Regions from separate parts of the Homo sapiens genome. Here all the other regions are linked to region 2. The links are contacts of gene promoters, found by promoter capture Hi-C in blood cells and fetal thymus (Javierre and others, 2016). All regions are on one chromosome and are shown on one strand. The core of a region is centred on a gene start or on the middle of the fragment in contact, and the rest is flanking DNA. Distances in the headings are between cores, read along the strand shown. Region 1 overlaps PKNOX2 (PBX/knotted 1 homeobox 2). Region 2 holds the start of ROBO3 (roundabout guidance receptor 3). Region 3 has its middle 24 kb from the start of PKNOX2-DT.

What was found. Contacts are between HindIII fragments. The CHiCAGO score rates a contact against its expected background, and 5 or more counts as called.
Region 1: a fragment that was not itself captured here is called in contact with the fragment with the promoter of ROBO3 in region 2 in 1 of 17 cell types (neutrophils); the score reaches 5.1 in neutrophils.
Region 3: a fragment that was not itself captured here is called in contact with the fragment with the promoter of ROBO3 in region 2 in 1 of 17 cell types (non-activated CD4 T cells); the score reaches 5.1 in non-activated CD4 T cells.

The regions. Positions count from the first base shown.
Region 1 is chr11:125,170,615-125,174,951 of GRCh38, reverse strand. The region is part of intron 1 of PKNOX2 (PBX/knotted 1 homeobox 2); the gene reads right to left. Among named protein-coding and RNA genes, the nearest start is that of PKNOX2, 8.0 kb to the right of the region's middle. The HindIII fragment of the contact is 7,759 bases long and covers 1-4,337 here.
Region 2 is chr11:124,862,546-124,866,782 of GRCh38, reverse strand. ROBO3 (roundabout guidance receptor 3) reads right to left here and starts at 1,351. Exons shown (of 28, transcript NM_022370.4): 1 at 1,046-1,351. The coding sequence starts at 1,205. RefSeq lists enhancers at 359-1,035, 3,375-3,876. The HindIII fragment of the contact is 17,224 bases long and covers 1-4,237 here.
Region 3 is chr11:125,138,631-125,142,774 of GRCh38, reverse strand. No RefSeq gene overlaps it. Among named protein-coding and RNA genes, the nearest start is that of PKNOX2-DT, 24 kb to the left of the region's middle. RefSeq lists an enhancer at 428-984. The HindIII fragment of the contact is 994 bases long and covers 1,814-2,807 here.

The DNA of each region.
Region 1 (4,337 bases), core at 1,451-3,950, 310 kb before region 2:
GAATCTGTCTCACAAGTCAAGAGGGCCCCAGGGGACCGCTGCCCTACTATGAAACCAGTTGTCTCCTCCCAGAGCCGGTGGGTGGGGGGCAGAGTGGGAGAGGGGCCGGGAGAGGAGCTCCTTCCACCACCGCTATTTGGGCCACAGGGGAGCAGCGGTCTTGAGTTCCCACTCTGCCAGGCTCTCCTGCCTGATTTCTGTCCCCCTGACCCTCCTGGAAGCTGGGGGACTCTGCAGGGTCCCTCTCAACAAGCACTCTCCCGGCCCCTGCAGACAAATAAATGAGGCCAGCTACCTCTGCAATATATCTTCCCACCCACTCACCTGCCTACAGGTAGACAGCCTTCCCACTGCTGGGCTAGGTGTTCTCTGGTGTCCTATCACCTTCTACAAACTCATGGTGCCTGATGGACCTCGCATGTACAGCCCAGACAGTCGTAGGAGAATAGACTTGAAAGGGGCTTGAAGAGAGCCAAGGATAACCTGCTCATTGTATAAAATGAGGATTCTGAAATCCAGAGAAGTTAAGAGATGAGTCAAGGTCATATAGCTTGTTCTCAATTTCACATGCGTTTTGTTTGGTCTCCTCATCAAAAATATGTAGCTCCTAGAGGATGAGGCCACTGAGTGTTCCCCACAGCATGCTAATGGGCACTAATTAAATAGTGGGTTCAGGCCACACCTGTTGACAGGTGGATTCTTAGGGAGGAAATGAGAATGAGAACAAGCACCTGTCGCCCCTGGGCCCGGGGCATACACTTGACTCTCTGGGCGTCTGTCTCCCTGCCCTGGACCTGGAGATAGAACTGACAATCTCCACAGAGGAAGGTCTCCTGGGAGGAAGGCAGGACAGCTCCTCAGAAGGAGGGGTCACATCACATTTAGACCTAGCACAGGACTTGGTACAGAGGAGCATCCATTCCTTAACAATGCACTGTGGACTGAGGACCGTGAGGGGAAGCTCTGGGGTAGGGCTCACTTGCCACTACTCCAGCACAGACCCATTGTGCTACGCTGGAACCCAGAGAGCCTGTGCCCTCCCCTTACCTAATAGGAATTAGACAGATGCTACCACTAACGGGCTAAACTCCCCTTGGTGTTTGTCGGCTTGACATCTGTCTGGATTGTGAGCTGATGACCACGGGCACGAGCCCCCGAGGGAATTCTTTCCACCCAGGGGTCCAGCTTACACCTGGGCTGGCAGACCAAGGCCACACTGCAGCCTCGCTGCCCCCACTCATAGCCATGAGATATCCCCTGCTCCTAAATCTACCTCTGCCTCTTAGTGCGGGCCCTCCCAGCCCCACCTGAGACTGAAGACTTTGTGGAAGTAAAAAACAGATCTTCTAGACTTTGGTTTTCACAACAGTAGCTCTTCCCAGCATTTGCCAAAGATTCGAGTAATGGAGGAGATGAGTTTAGCTGGTTCTTTTATGAAAGATCTTGGGAGAGGACTAGGTAGAGCTCAGGAATGGCTTGTGTTGTCTCCAGAAGGCTAAAGGAAGAACCATCATCATAGAAGATAAGCCTGGGCTACCCTAAATAATGTGCTCCATTGCTACACACAGACACACCTGCACCCACTTCCTGGACCTGCCACTTTAGCCACTCTCTGAGCCCCAGTTTCTCTTACCTATAAAATGATACAATGCCCATTTTACCTGCTTCACAAGGCTAAGAGGATCACACAAGGGCATGTGAGAATGAGCTTTATTAGGACAGAAGACTAATATTTATTCAACATGAGCTTGCCATGTGCCAACCACTTACAGATGTTTTCTTCCAGAGTTTTCACAGCAGTCTTAAATATGCTTGGTAGTATTATTATCCTCACCTATAAAGCCAAGAAAACGGAGGCTCAGAGGGGTTAAGTGATGTGCACACTGCTTAGCTGTAGTAGAACCAGGGTCAGAACCCAGAATCTGACTCCAAAGCCTGTGTTCCTTCCCCTAGCCCCACGCTGTCTCAACAAGAAAAGTAAATGCTGCTTTTTATGAAGAAGCCAGTGAGTTTTCAGACTGAAATTGCTGCCTCATGGAGCCATCCCCTATCGCTAGGAACATCCATTTGTCCCAGGCAGGCCATCAGAAGGGTCAGAACCAACCCCTAGGCCCCCACTGTCCTTAAGACTCTATACCACAGGGGCCAAGCCCCTGCAGTCTGTTGAATGTCATCATGATTCTTTGCTCGGATTTGTGGCGGTGGCGGTGGTTTTAATGATTGCCTAGCCACAAAGCCACGAAGCAATCCAATTGGGAGGAAATATGGAATCATGGAACTTTGAGTAGAAGGGGACCTCTGAGAGCAAGTTCAAGCTCCTCATTGGATAAGTGAGGACACTGACATCCAGAGAAGGTAAGTCCCTTGTTGAAGGTCACACAGTCAGTCAGTGGCTGAGTCCACAGTGGAATCCACCATGCTCAGACTACCAGTCCCCCCTTTCTCTCCACCATCCCGATCACCCTGATATCAATCAGCTTCATGGTTCCTGAGATGGAAGAGGGCTGGATGTGGGCCTATAGTCTCTGCTCTCTCTGCTTAGGGAAAAAGGGGATCTTAGGTAAGAAAGCCATGTTGCAACCAGGAGTGAAGTGATTTGTTTGCCTCATGCACCAACTCATTGGTCTAAGTTCTACCCATTGAGAAGCCAACGTGGAAAGGTCTGCTCGGAAATCCCTCAGTGTGTAAGGGAAACTGGACCCAAACAACAAGGCCTTACCTGGTGCTCCTGGGGCAGGGACAGCCCACTTCTGGCCACCTGGGATAGGTAGAGGGGGCTAAGCTCCTCCTTCTAGTCCAGGCTGCTCCCTTGCAGTCCCCAGGACAGCGCAGAGCACCATGACCTAGGAGGCTCATGTTTCATGCCCCCACTGGCCAGCCGCTCAGCCAGTCCTCCTCTAACACTCTGCAGAGGCTCCCTTCCTCCCAGAAGTCTGCCCTGTGACTCCACTCTGTCCTGGTCACTCCACATCCTGCCCCACTGTTGTCTCCTGTGGTTAACACCTGGTTGGTGGCTTTTTCCACGTCACCTCTCTGTCCATCATCTCTCAGGTCTGTGTATTGTATGTGCCCTCTCTACTGTTAACCCCAGACACCCCTCATCCCCAAAGTGTCCTCAGGGTCTGTGTACCTGTTTTCTACTGCAGCCTCTGCCAGGGCTGTGCACAGCAGGCAGCACCAGGCCACAGCATTGACTGGCTATTTGTGCAACGCTGGTTGAAGACGCCAGTGACCTGGAAAAGGGCCCAAGCCAGGTTCTGGGGAAGCAAAAGGAAAGGGAAAGGGGTAATCCTCCAACTGGATCATCAGCTCCAACATAACATGACAGAGGAGAGTCAACCATGACTGAGCCTCTCCTCTGTGCCAGACACCGTGCTAGGGACTTAACAGATGCCCCTCAACAGTCCTGTGAGCTATGTGCTTTTACTTCCCAATTTACAAATGGGGTAACTGGATCGAAGATGTTAAGCAACTTGTCTAGATCCATATGACAGGTAAAGAGCAGGGCTAGGCTCTAAATGAAGTTTTGCCTGATGCTAAATAAAGCCCATACTCAACACCGCCCCCACCACAAGCAAGCTCCTTGAGGACAGGCTTCATGGCAATGTCTTGGCTTTGTTTTTGCTGCTGTCTCCTCAATGCCTAGGACTGTGCCGGGGACACAGAAGATGCTCTATAAATATTTGCTGAATGGAAGAACAAAGGGAATGGGTGAATGCCATGCTGCCCCTCCCCAGCAAGGCAGGACACCTGCCCATGATGCCCGATTACTGGGTTCTATTTCCAAGAATCCTCAACAACTATTTGTTCCCTCTCTACTAGATTTGGGATGGCGATGTGAGTAGAGATGTAAATTGAACACAAAAGACTACGTCCTAATGAGGTGGAGGATTTACAAGCCTCAGTGCCCTGTGACCTGCTGCTTCTGTGGCCGCTTTCTGGCCCATCTGGATCTGGCTCCTCCTCCACCCCAGCCTCCCCCCTCCCCCACTGGGCACCCCCACTGCCTTGACTGAGCCGTACTCAAATTGGCCACGTTCCTACTAAGCAGAAAACTAACAGTTACCCCACCCACCCCGGCCCTATCCGAACTCTCCAGAGTCTGCTCTGGGCCCCAGGGCCAGCTGCTTTTCTCCACATTCCAGCCAAAAATAATACAAGAACGAAGCTGTTTGGTGGAGACTTAATCTAATCTTCATTGCTTCAGTTTTAAAATATCCTGCCTGGTTTAGGGTTTCTTATTACACACAGGGATGTGTTTTTAGTGAGATAGGTCTTAGCAGAAACGTCCTTCTTGTAATTAGAAACCCAGGCAGGCCGGGCCTGCAGTGAGGCAT
Region 2 (4,237 bases), core at 102-2,601:
TAGACACAGCTGCAGGCGCCCTTTCCCTGGAATTTCCCCCTCTACCCTTCCCGGTCTCAGGAGATGCTTCGACTGCAGCCTAATGAATAGCTAATGGCCATGCTAATGAGGCTCTGGGGCTCCTCCCTCAGCACCTGATGTGCCCCACACATGAACACACACATATTGCCAGGGTCTCCTTTCTCTCCACCTTCGAGTCCCCAGCACAGTGCTCGTCACTAGACTCGAGTGGGTCGAGGCAGAGGGATGGGGACCGCGTGCACCTGGAGGGAACCACACGCGAAAGCGCCCGGTAAAGCGGGGGTTCCCGATGCGGCAGGCAGGGGGCGCGCTCCGGCCTCTCCGCAGGCTGGCGGCGGCCGGCTCCCGCAGCTTCCCCGCGGCGCTAGGGGAGAGCGCGCTGTCCCAGTCATTTATTAATCACCGTAATTAGCGGTAACGACCTCGCCGCCAGCTCCGCCCGCCCGCCACAGCTCTGCCGGGGTGGGCCGGCTGAGAGTCCCGCCGCTGAAAGACAAACTTCTAAGTTTCCTTAAAATGATCGCCGCCCCTATCCCCTCCGTAGCAAACACATCCAGCATTTTGGCTTCCTCTGGTCCTAAGTGAGTTCTTGGGAAACTTCGGGGTTCCGAAGACCAGCTGCCTGGGTGGGTCACCGAGTGACCTGGCTTGGCCGAGGCCGGCGGGAGACTGTGCCCCCTCCTCTGCCCTCCCTGCGCTGGGCCCGGGCCTTTCTTAGCTCGGACTTCCCTGCCCGTTACCAGCAACGGTTCTTCTCACCTGGGGTGGGCGTTGTAGGGGAAGGGAAGGAGGTGTAAAAAGACTCAGTAGCCATCTTCTCCCAAGCCCTCGACCTCCCGCGGGTACCCCCACTCATGTGCTCGAAGCTCCAAATTATCCCTTAGACCCCACGACCCAGGGAGGCGCTGGGAGGCGCCACTCAATCCCGGACCTCGGGACAGGAGCGCTTCTCCTTCCCTTCCACGCCGCCCTCTCACCTCATCCCCATCCCAGGATCCCATATCCCCAAGAGGCAGGGTCTCACCGTTGAGAGAGGGATCGCCGGGAGGCAGCAGGGTGTGGTTGAGCGCCGCCAGCGAGGAGTTGAAGCCCAAGAGCAGCTCGCTGGAGTTGGAGATGTCCCCGGCCAGAGAGTCCGCGAACAAGTTCATCTGCAGCAGCGTTTTCAGCAGGTAGCGCAGCATGGCTCGACCCAGCTGGGATCGGGACTGGGGGCTGGGGGCCCAGCCCCTGGGTCTGAGACCCGTGGGCTGGGAGCCGTAAGCCCCTCCACAGCCTCTGCGCGCTGCGGCAGCCACGGTGCCGCTCTCCTGCCGGTGCGCCTGGGTACGGTCGGTGCCTCTTCGTGCCCTCCTCCTTCCCTCGTCCTTCTCTCCACCCCCTAGTGCCGGAGTCCCCTGGGAGCTGGGCAGGCGGAAAGCAGGTGCCACGCCGATCACGGCGTAATTAAGGGATTAATCCGCCTCCCTCCACCCTCCCACCCTTACCTCTACAGTCACTATCCGAGCAGGAGACACGAGTAGCGTAGCGCGCGAGTTGGAGTCCCCGCCCCGCACCCCAAGCCCAGCGTTCCGTTCTGGACGCGGCGAGAGATTTTCCCTGTCTCAAAGCACCCAAGATGAGGGACGAGGCTCTGTCGGACTCTGCCCTTCTGCCCAACTTTAGAACAGGAATCTGTCCTCTCTTTTCCCGAACCTTTTGGAAACTGAGGCAAAGCGCAAGCAATGCTCCTTGCTGCCAAAGTTCTGGTTTCCATTCCCTCCCAAGTCTAGGGGTTTGGCGACGGAAGGGCAGGAGACTGGGGTGGTTTGCAGCAAGAGTTGGGAGTAGGCAGAGAATTCCAAGACAGGTCCACCTCTCTGCCCTCTGGTCCTTTGGTCTGCAGCCAGGAGGCCAGAGGATGGAGCGGCGCGCCCTGACCCGGGAGTCCTGCTCCAAACGCCCTAATCTAGGAGTTCCTGTAGGAGACTGAAAGCCAGGGAAACCCAGGCAACTGTCATTTATTTGAATCCTTTTACATTACCCTGCTTTGACATTTTTTATTAAATTGTTTTACGTTTTTGAGGAGACTGAAATGGAACCAAGGATTCTAGGACAAAAACAAAGATAATATTATTTTTGTAAAGGCATGTGGGATTGCTGCAAAATTAGTGCAAATCTGTTCAAATCGGATAGCAGTCGTCCTTCCTGGGGGGGGCGAAAAGAAAACCATGGGCCCCTACTCCCACCTCCCACTTCCAGTCGCGGTCTGCTTCTGACTTTTCTGGAGTTCTTTCTACCTGAAGACCCACCTCGACAAACTCACTTTCCTAGACAGGAGATGGCTTTGGGGTATCAGGGAAAGAGAGAGGCCGGGGCATTCCTAACCTGAGGTAAGGCCCTGCTGATTGAAGAGTCAGTGCCAGAGTTCTGGCTCAGCCGTCAGGTTCTGGGATGAGACAACTTTCATGGGGCGACTGCTTCTGACCCCAAAGGGGTCGAGATCAGAGGGGTGGGTGCTATACAGTCGCAGACTCTGGAGTAAGCAGAATCAAGAATTGAAATATTTCAGGCAGAGCTTGTTCAAGGGAACCCGAGACATTGTCAAGGGGTGGGGGGCTTGTTCCAAGCCTCCTTCCTCAGTCCAGGCGCCTGGCTGTGAGCCTCCAACTATGGGTGTTTAGGTGCCTTCCAACCCTAGCAGTTCTGGGCGGGACGTAGAAAGGCTGGAAGCACTAGGTGTGGGGGAGGGGGTAGGTGGGAGTGGGGGTGGGGCCGGATGGACCCCCCACCCCACCGCCACGCAGCGCCCTGGGAGCTGTCCTTTTCAGCACCTCATCTGCAGGTGCCTGACTAGGGCCCTGGAGCCCCCAGGGAAGACATAAATCCGAGCAGACCCTGAGGCTGAGGACTGGGGTAGGTGGGAGACGGGCTAGAGACACATCCTTTCAAAAGCAAGAAGATAATAAGAGATTTGACGCCCCTCCCTTCCTCGCTCCAGGGTGGTATTCAGATAAGAGAGAAAGTAAGGGATGTATTTCCCACCCGAAATCTATCCTTCAGGAATGACCAACACAGAAGTGGGTTCTAATTCTACGTTTGCCAAGTACAAGACGTCACCGCTTTGGATCTCAGTTTTCCCATCTGTTAAGGAGGAATTGGAGTGCTTGATCTACTCTGACCTGTGAGATTCGAGGCTCCGGGGCCCTTTGCTCCGCCCCCTGCTGACCGCGGTCACCTGGGTTCCATCACAGCAGAGGCTGAATCGGGATAGAAACCCCACGTCCTGGTACCAGGCCCTACTCTGGGGCGGAGGGGGCCAGAAACCCTCCCACCATGCGGCTCCTGCCCGGTCCTAATGCCCTGATTTGCTCCCGGCTGGCCTCTCCGCAAACACAGGGCCTGCCAGCGTCTAGGGGCTTGTCACCCTGTTAGCGGATTTGTTCCCGGAGACGGCGCAGTTAATTGGCCCTTTATGTGGGGATCAGGGCGTATTTGCTCAGGGTTCCCTGAGCGGAGGCGCGGCTCAACCCGTGAGCAAGGCTGCTTCACAGTCCCTGTCACGTGGGTTTGGAGGCTGGACAAATAGCCGGGCCACTCTACTTTCCAGGAATCTGCTGTCTCTCCTACACTTCACCTCGTCTGGGCTCTCTCTAATTTTCACTCTCCACTTTTTCTTGTTTCTCTCTGCTCTTTCCTTCTTTGTACTTCTCTTTATCTTGATGATACTCTCCTTTTAAACCAAACTCAGATCTAAGCCAAGAGGGCTGAGTTCTCCCAACTGGGGATATCAGAGAATAAATACCTCCCAACCATAACCTAAGTTCCCTCCCTTTTCCTTCCCATTCTCTAGTGTCCTTACGGCCCTGGGCTAGGCAGAGTGGAGCAGAGAGTGGGCAGAGAAGGCCCAGCAGAAGTCACACCTCCCAGCTCTTCTGCAGCCCTCTCCCCACCTTCTCTTCTTTACTGAGGGTCAGACAGGCAGCCTAGAAACTGGCCCTGCCCCTGTCCACATCCAGCTTCTCTCCTGGCTACCCCCATAGGCAGTTCTGAAAGGGGTTTGCCTCCTACTAGTCTCCTCACTGCCTGCTCTGCTCTCTGAAAATTACCAAGACAACTCTTTGTCCTTTTTCTGGAGTGGGTATGCAACTCTTTGCAACTATGTCCATTTCCTAATTTGTCAACTGTAAGTGCCTGTACAGCACCTAAAACACTGAGTAGATGCCCTGCAATTGGA
Region 3 (4,144 bases), core at 1,061-3,560, 280 kb before region 2:
TTACAACGTGATTATAAGTATATCAATATATCTACATCTATCTGTCTACCTATCTACCTACCATCTACCTACCTATAAAAGGAGTACAAGGAAGACAGCCCATCTCTGACTAAAGAAGTCAGGGGGAGCCTCAATCTAGAGAGGGTACCACTGGAGCCAGTGCTGAAGGTTATGATGGGAATATCCTAGGAGAGTATCGGGGATCCTGGGAGCTTCCCTGGAAAGTCTGTGACTGATGCCTGAGCTCTTCAACCAGAGTCATCAAATTCAGATATTCACTCTGAAAGGAGCCTCAGAGGCCCTCTCTATCCACAGGTGAGCCGACTGAGCAGTGCCAGGCCTGGGGTGAAGCGGAATTTCAGGAAGCACCCCGTCTCCAGCCACACAGGCGCCAACCCGCCAGCACCACCCTGCAAGCAAGGCCTCACCCTGGTCTCAGGCACAGCTCTCTCCAAGGGTCACACAGCAAAGCCAACAGTGCCATGCAAGGACCCCTGCCGCCTGCACTCCAGTCTTCTGCGTTTTGTGATTATGGAGAGCAAGGGAAAGGGAGAAGGAAAAGAAGGGGAAGAGGAGTCAAGAAATGCACCGCAGTCTCCTGTTCCTACAACAGAAAAGACAGCTCTGAAACTCTATATCCACCCACTTCAAGTTCCCGCCTTCCTCAAGCTTTATGTTCAGAAATGAGGATCTCTTCCCCACAGAGCCCTTCCCTCCCCTCTTTCTACTACGTGCTCTTCCAATTCCACACCTTTTCAACATTTATTTCAGCTGCAGATTGTCTTTCAAAAGCTGGCGGGGCGAGCCCTGCAGAGCCCACCACCGCGGCCAGAGGGTTGTAGTTCTACAGTCAGCCAGCAGGGGGCAGGCCTGCTCCGAGTCTCCGTCCTGCCCCGACCATCCCAGCCCCCCAGCCCAGTCACAACTCCTTAGAGATGCAAATTGAGAGGCAGCCTTCCTAACCCGAGAGGGCTGCTAATTCTCTGACAGTATGCAGATTTCCATCTTGCCTTTGCCTGGGTTTATTTGTTTTACTTTGCAATAAATTTAATACAGACTCCCTGAAGCAGAGAGGCAGATGGACTATAAAGTGCATTTTGAGCAGCCTTAGTTACTAGGTTAGTGTGGGTTTTGATCCCTGCTTAAATTATATCTATGAAATTTGACATGGATTTGGGTCTGGGGTTTGCTGGCTCCTTGGTGCTCTGGAGCGGCTTTTAGAGCATTTACAAGGGTTGATTTGATTATTGGGGCTTTAATTTTTCACAGAGGCTAACGAGGAGGCTGGGAAGCCCGGCCGGGGCCTGGCAGGAAGATGGAAAAGCTGGGATAAGTTGGGTTTCTACCTGCCCCAGTGTTCACGGTATCGAAATCGTTTTCTCATGTCCCTCGAGGGGCCCTAAGTCACTCTCACCAAAGAGCTGCATGCGGAAACCTGTTCTGATTCCCGGGGTAGTAGTGCAGCAAGGAGCTAGCTCAGATTCTACGAAAAAAGTCAGACGCACATATGGGACAGACATAACTAAAACATCTATAAAGAAACATTAACAAGAATGGTACAGATCAGCATTGTATAACAATGTAAATTGGATGTGAGGGGACTTGGCAGAAGGACAAAAGTCAACACACTCCTGTTAACCCCTTTGCCTTGTGCCAGAGTGTGCGGCCTCCCACTTCCCTACTTCCTTCCAGCAGATCCCTGAAGAAAGGAGGCAGAAGGAACTAGGAATGGGATGAGTTGGGTTCTTGCCCTGGCTCCACCGATTACTTCTTTGTTCAGATATTTGGTGAATATATTTAATTTCTGCAAGCTTCAGTTTCCCTCTGCACAGCTGGAATTTCATTATCATGAGGACCCAGTAAGAGATCTTCAGGAAGAATGTGTGTAGGCTGTAAAGGACCGGACCATAAAAAGTGAGTACATGGACAGATGTCATTCCCCGGTTGTGAAATGGTCATTGATGGATTAGGGTAGCAAGGCTTCAAGGCCAGAGAGGAGCTATTAATGGAATTTCCAAAGCCAGTCCATGAGGCAACATTGGTGGAATGAGTTGGGTTTCACAAACTAGCCAAGGTGTGAGACGGCCAGCTTTCTCACTGGTGGTGAGTTCTGTTCACCTGTGTGCGAAGCCTGCCTGCCAGCAGAGGACACCCTGAGAAGGTTCCAGCAGCAGCAGCAGCAGCAGCAGACGCCGAGGATTGTCCTGCAGAGCCCTGAGGGCTTGGCCACCCTGGCTGTGGGAGACTGGCAGGGGCTGGTGCTGCAGATTCATCTTCTCCCGCGTGAACCCGAGTGCAGGCAGAGCTCGGAGACAGAGGAGGGAGGGGAGGGAGGGCCCCTTGGCAAGAACCCAACTCATCCCATTCCTAGTTCCTTCCGCCTCTTTTCTTCAGGGGTCTGCTGAAAGGAAGTAGGGAAGTGGGAGGCCCGTCCCTCCTGCCTCCCTCCTCTGCATCTTCACATCTCTTAGGCCAGAGACTGGAGCAGGAAAGGGAGTTTGAGGGGGAACTAAGAGGAATGTGTTTGAAGAGCCAAGAAGAGCAAAGATTTGGGAGCCACCAGAGAAAAGGGGTAGAGAGTAGAAAGAGGCAGGTCGGGGAGAAAGGAAGGAACCATCACACATTGATATTTACTCCTGAAACTTTGAAGAGGATTGTGAACTGCTGGGGGAAGGGGAGAGAAATGAGAGAAGAGAAAGGAAATAACCAGCTCCACATGAAGGAGGGGGTGGGGTACAGGGGAGGTGGAGGCTGAGATTAAATGGAAATGAGGGGCTTGGTCACCATGGAGAAAGAAGCTGGAAGCTTTGGCAGCAGTTTGTCTATTAGGAGGAAAGGCAGGGATCAAAGAAGCTGTGGTGTGTCTATACACACAACCGGATTGGAAAATAACTAGCTGAATTCTGCCCAAAGCAGGGGGGGAGGGGGAAGGGAGTGAAAACTGGTTGAATTCTTTCCCAAATAACAATGGTTCTCCCCACGCTCGTTTCTCCCTTCTATCTGTTCCTCTGTCGCCTTAGGAACACACTACACTGAAACTGTTGGGTTGTGAAGATTTTGTTAAATTAAATTTGGTGACTTCCCCTCCGCCCCAGTGACCTGTGTGTTCAAGGGAATGGAAACCCTACATCCTGTCCCGGACAGAGGAAGGGAGATGGTAGCTGTGGTGGGGAAGGAGGGCGAAAGGAGGGACGCAGCAGTGAGGGTAAACCAGCCGATGCCTTGGTCTTCACGGGACCCTCTGAAGGAGAATGAAGAAATCCAGAAGCAGTGGCCACCGGCCAAAAGAATGGCCACACAGCCTCTCCAGAACCACAGCGGGGCTGCACTGGGACCCATGCTGGGTCTCTGCCTGACCCTGGGCTTTTCAGAGAGCCCACAAAGGCTTTTCTCCAGGAACACCCTCCCTGTTCCAGACCACATGGCAGGTGAGCAGGCGGGCCAAGGGACAGCTGTCTGGGTAAAGGTGGGGTGGAGTGTGGAAAGATCTGAGACCAAGGCCCACAGGCTCCTCAAACACAGAACAGCGCTGGGGCCAAGAACTGGAGTGGGGCGGGGGGCCTGAGGCCAGGGCCTCCACGTGGACCCTTCCCCTAACCTGTAAGTATCAGCAGCGGGGTGCAGCGGGGGGCCTGAGGCCAGGGCCTCCACGTGGACCCTTCCCCTAACCTGTAAGCATCAGCAGCAGTGCTGAGCAGGGGGGAGTCTGGCTTCCCGGCTGGAGGCAAGGAGACTGAAGGAAGAAGGAATCAAGGTTGCTGAAGGTTAGAGGCTTCAAGGGAAAATGGAGCAGGGGGCAAGCCTCTGACTCTGAGTGTGTGTGAAGAGCAGGGTGGAGAGGAACAGAGCCATACATCTGTCTCTTGCGATCTTCGGGATACACTACGCTAACATTTTGAAAATCATTCATCATTTATCTGAAATTCAAGTTTGACTGGCTAGCATGTATTTTGTCTGGCATCCCTATCCCTGGGTCCAAGGGATTGGGGTGATAACCACAAGGCTTATGTCACAAATTGGGTGAGGCCAGGGAACCCTTATAGACCTCAGAGGTTGGTGACTTACAACATACCATGGAGCTTTACCCATGCCCAGGTCCGATCAGTGTGTCCCAACTGTAGCTGGGGTTAGGAGAGCAGTGTCG